Regions from separate parts of the Homo sapiens genome. Here region 2 is linked to region 1. The links are contacts of gene promoters, found by promoter capture Hi-C in blood cells and fetal thymus (Javierre and others, 2016). All regions are on one chromosome and are shown on one strand. The core of a region is centred on a gene start or on the middle of the fragment in contact, and the rest is flanking DNA. Distances in the headings are between cores, read along the strand shown. Region 1 holds the start of FANCL (FA complementation group L). Region 2 has its middle 67 kb from the start of VRK2.

What was found. The method cuts DNA at HindIII sites, captures the fragments that hold promoters and counts their contacts. A CHiCAGO score of 5 or more calls a contact.
Region 2: a contact is called between a fragment that was not itself captured here and the fragment with the promoter of FANCL in region 1, in 4 of 17 cell types (monocytes, naive CD8 T cells, total CD4 T cells and 1 more). The highest score is 6.8, in monocytes.

What each region holds. Positions count from the first base shown.
Region 1 is chr2:58,239,936-58,242,648 of GRCh38, reverse strand. FANCL (FA complementation group L) reads left to right here and starts at 1,324. Exons shown (of 14, transcript NM_018062.4): 1 at 1,324-1,431. The coding sequence starts at 1,336. RefSeq lists an enhancer at 977-1,136 and a silencer at 1,677-1,726. The HindIII fragment of the contact is 7,787 bases long and covers 1-2,713 here.
Region 2 is chr2:57,978,232-57,980,931 of GRCh38, reverse strand. It overlaps a transcript of VRK2 not described here. Among named protein-coding and RNA genes, the nearest start is that of VRK2, 67 kb to the left of the region's middle. RefSeq lists an enhancer at 1,243-1,850. The HindIII fragment of the contact is 3,252 bases long and covers 1-2,700 here.

The DNA of each region.
Region 1 (2,713 bases), core at 75-2,574:
AAACTGGGGTAAGTTGTCAAAGGTCTTTTTGTTCAGATTCTTTTCTATGTCTCCGTTTCTTTAGAGATAAGGATATTTCTTTCCTGTGGGTATAGGAAGAGCACCTCTGGATTGAGGATCCAATGACCCGCCTCAGGGAAGAAGGATGGGAGAAGGTCAGAGAGTGATCTTAGGTTTTGTTGTTTTCTCAAATGTCAAGGGGCCATATTTTGGGGTAGCATATCCTGAACCCCATCAGCGGTGAAAACTTGTATTTCTACATAGTTCCCAGGTGATGCTGTTGCTAGGTTCTAGGATCACGTTTTGAGAACCACTGCTTTAATGTAATTTATATCTAACCACTGCTCCAGCATTCTTTTCTGTAAGCATCCAGAATGCTGTGACAAATTCTTGTCAAACTTTAAGAATCTTCAGGATGTCAAATTCTGTCTTGAGGTCAATAAAGATGGGTAGGGGACGAAATAATCTTTGCTCAACCTTTGGCACATTACAATGATGTTTTTCAAATAGTAGGGCTCAAACGTGATGCATTGGAAAATTGGAAAATTGGAAAATCAAATAATCATATGGTAAATATTTTAGTAGGTTTCTTATTTAATCAACTCTTAATAAGATGGGATGGATAACATTCCTGAGTTAGAAAAACATATTGCAAGCGCTGTCAGAGGAAAATTAAGTTCAAGTCCATCAGCAATCTTTACTCATGTTTTGCTTTATATATTTGTGAGTGCCGTACACAGAACTGAGTCCAGTGTTGACTTGAGTCTAATCAATACACATATACGTATACATGTGTGTGCCTCAAATATATCTGATTGAACTTAGTAAGCCACAGAACTGTAATATATATGATATAATCAATGTGTTATACATTATATTACAATAATTATACACAAAATAATACATTATTCTGTATGTTAAGGGAGAGAGGACAACAGCAAAGAAGACAGAGTGCTACAACGTCCAGGCTGTAAAAGTCATTTTATTCTGGAGGAAATGCAACACCAAAGTTGTAACAGTCTTTCAATAAAGTAAAACAGAATCATCGAAAGGGCTCCTGGGACAATTGAGGCTAGAATGATCTTGGTCAGTCAGTCCTGTGGACTTGAGGGCAATCTTCCCTCCCACTACCGGTTGGGGAGCCCTGATGTCGCCTCCCGCAGAGCGCCACTTGGCCTGGCCTGCGCTTCACCTTCATTTCCGCCCGCGGAATCCTCCAGGATCTTCCCGCCAAGGCTGGGGTTTCCGCTCCGCGGCGTCCGAGCGCCAGCGGACTGCGCATGTGCAGGACCCAGCAGGTCTAGAGCTTTTCTGTGTTTCTCCGGACTTCGAGCCATGGCGGTGACGGAAGCGAGCCTGTTGCGCCAGTGCCCCCTGCTTCTGCCCCAGAACCGGTCGAAAACCGTGTATGAGGGATTCATCTCGGCTCAGGTACCCGCCCAGTGGTTGCTTTCTAGCTAAGAGAGCCTCTTGCAGCGTAGCTGCGCGGAGAAGTCTGTGACGGGCTAGGAGGTTAGGGGCCCAGACTTGTGGGGATTGAGAGGGGCGGCGCGTAACGGCTCTTGGGAGACTAAAGGTTTGAGAAGCGCCGCTGTCGCCGCCACCCCGGTGGTCGCCGCGCTGGATGGGGAGCGAGGAGGCGCGCGGCGTGGAGCGGGGCTGGGGCCACGCCTCCTCTCTCCCTAGCCCTTCCCCGAGTTTGGCTTCCTTCTTCGTTCAGTGTCCCGCAATTGACTGTTTTTTAATTTTTTTTTTGTAAATTTTGCCTTAACTCGATTTTAACACCCTCCACCTCCACGGATGTTGATGAGTTCACTCGGGAATCTGGGCTAATTATTTTCGTGTTTCCTGTAGAAAGAACATTTGGGAAGAAAACCTTATTTTGGCCCTTTGCCAAGTCGTATGTACCTGTACACCCACAGTTACAATATCTTCTAGGAGAAGCATGACAGCAATGGAATTAATTAACTTTGCTGATTCCAGTGGCCTCTCATATGGAGTTTATTACACATACTAACACATGTGTAGGGTTTTGAAGTTTACAAAGCGCTTTCCAGGTAAATAGTTCACTTAATCCTCAGCCCTTTGAGGCAGAAATTTTTAAAAGAATCATCATTCCCATTTTCTAGTTGAAGAAATCAAGGTATGGGAAACCGGAGACGTTATTTGCTGATGATCACATCAGAATCCCTTAAACGCAGGCTGTGTGATTTCAGTCCTGGATTTTTTTCTCTTTACATTGCACCAGGATACCTTAGGTTAGGAGTGTAGACTTTTCCTTTCTGACCATTACACTCAACCTTGTGCCCACTTCCCCACCATCACGCATAGTCTTTGAGTATATGTGGAATTACCATATGACCATCACAGAAAGTAGAGGTTAAAAATTCATTATTCCATATGGAAAAAAGTTAATCCACCTTTCCCTCTCCAATTAGAAGTATTCTTCTTGAATTACCTAGCTGAAAATATGATTCTCTTGTAGACAACATTTAGAAAAGTTGAAAAATTTTAAGTTACTTTTTTTTTTTTTTTTTTACAGGAAGCATGTTATACCTAATTTTAGGCAAAATACTGTTATGTATGTCTATATCTGCTAAGGCCTTTTAGGAAACAAGTACACCCATTAGAATTGAGATTAGATGAAAGTTTCTTTTATGACCATTGCTATAGCTAGAATTCCAATTTGTACCTGCCTTAGCAGTTTATTTAA
Region 2 (2,700 bases), core at 13-2,512, 260 kb after region 1:
ATGCAATGACACCCATAGGCTCAAAGTGAAGAGATGGAGAAAGATCTATCAAGCAAACAGAAAAGAAAAAAAAAGCAAGCGTTGCTATTCTTATTTTAGGCAAAACAGACTTGAAACCAACAATGATCAAAAAGGACAAAGAAGGGCATTATGTATTGATAAAGGGTTCAATTAAACAAGAAGACTTAACAATCCTAAATGTATATGCACCCAACACTGAAGCACCCAGATTCATAAAACAAATTTCTGTAGACCTTGAAGAGACACATAACCACACAATAATAGTGGAAATTTCAACACAAATTGACAGTGTTGGACAAATCATTAGGACAGAAAACTTACAAAGATATTCAGTACCGAAATTTGATATTTGACCAAATGACCCTGAGAGACATCTACAAAATACTCCACCCAACAAGAGAATTTATATATATTTTTTCATCTGCACACAGCACATACTCCAAGGTTGACCACATGCTCTGCTATAAAGCAATTCTCAACAAATTCAAAAAAACCAAAATCATACTAATCACACTCTCAGACCACAATGCAATAAAAGTAAAAATTTATGCCAAGAAGTTCTCTCAAAAACCATACAATTACATGGAAATTTAACAACCTGTTCTTGAATGATTTTGGGTAAAGAATGAAATTAGGGCAAAAATAAAAAAAATTCTTTGAAACTCATGAAAACAAAGATAAATATACCAGAACCTCCAGGACACAGCTAAAGCAGTGTTAAGATAAAAGTTTATAGTGCTAAAAGCCTACATCAAGAAGTTAGAAAGGTCTCAAATTAATGATCTAACAGCACATCTAGAGGTACTTGAAAAATAAGAGCAAACCAACCCCAAAGGTAGCAGAAAAGAAATAACCAAAATCAAAGCTGAACTGAACGAAGTTGAGATGCAAAGATTCATGGAAAAAGTCAATGAAACCAAAAATTTGTTCTTTGAAAGAATTAATAAGATTTATAGACTCTTGGCTAGATTAACAAAAAAAGAGAGAGAGAATCCAAATAAACATAATCAGAAATGACAAAGGGAGCATTACCACAAATCCTACAGAAATACAAAAAACCCTCAGAGACTATTATGAACACCTCCATGCACACAAACCAGGAAACCTAAAATAAATGAATAAATTCCTGGAAACACAACCTTCCAAGATTGAACCAGGAAGAAATTGAAATCCTGAACAGACCAATAACAAGTTCTGAAGTTGAGTTAGTAATAAAAACCTTACCAACCAGAGAAATCCCTGGACCAGACATATTCACAACTGAATTTTAGCAGATATATAAAGAAGAGAGGGTGCTAGTGCTGGGGTTAAATTATTCCAAAAAATCAAGGAGGAGGGACTCCTCCTTAACTAATTCTATGAGGCCAACATCATTCCAATACCAAACCTGGCAGAGACACATGAAAAAGGAAAATTTCAGGCCAATATCCCTGGTGAACATAGATGCAATATCCTCAACAAAATAATATCAAATTGAACCTAGCAGCACACATTAAAAAGCTAATTCACATGCAAATCAAAGCCACAATGAGATACCATCGCATGCCAGTCAGAACAGCGATTAGTAAAAAGTCAGGAAACAATAGACGCTGGCCAGGCTATGGAGAAATAGGAATGCTTTTACACTGTTGGTGGGAATGTAAATTACTTCGACCATTGTGGAAGACAGTATGGTAATTCCTCAAGGATCTAGAACCAGAAATACCATTTGACCCAGCAATCCCATTACTGGGTATATACCCAAAGGAATATAAATCATTCTACTGCAAAAACACATGCACACGTATGTTTATTGCAGTACTATTTACAATAGGAAAGACATGGAACCAACCCAAATGCCCATCAATGATAGACTGGATAAAGAAAACATGGTACATATACCACATGGAAAACTATGCAGCTATGAAAAGAAAAAGTCAGGAAACAATAGATCATATCCTTTGCAGGGACATAGATGAAACTGGAAGCCATCATCTTCACCAAACTAACACAGGAACAGAAAACCAAACACCTCCTGTTCTAACTCATAATTGGGAGTTGAAGATTGAGAACACATGGACATGGAGAGGGGAACAACATACACCAGGGCCTGTTGTAGGGTCGGGGGTGAGGGGAGGGAACTTAGAGGACAGGTCAATAGGTGCAGCAAACCACCATGACACATGTATACCTATGAAACAAACCTGCATGTGCTGAAAAAGAAAAAGGAAGAAAGAAAGAAAGAAGGAAGGAAGGAAGGAAACAAATCAAGTAAGCCAATATATAAAAAAAAAAAGATACTTGGCCTGAGGGATCACATGATCCATGTCTCTAGTGATGTGGCACCCAATATGTCAATCAATATGATTTAGATCGGGATGGTAAGTTGGCAGCATGTTTGAAATTTCATAAAGATTGTTCTGCTTGCCTTAATTTTATGATGTCAATGACTTAAATTTCATAAAATGTTTATTAAGCAAGTGACTGGCTTTTTAGGTCTTCTGTTATCAAGGCTTAGAAGTGGACATGGCTGAGATCTAGAATGTAGCTATGAGGCAAATCGAAAGTAAAGCATTATGTCCCACACTGTGAATTTGTAGGAATTACTGTAATAATTTTTTTCTAATTGTTTCTGACTATGTCCATCTGTAACCTGGTTATTTATTAACAAATTTTTGGATATGTTCAATTTTTTAAGAA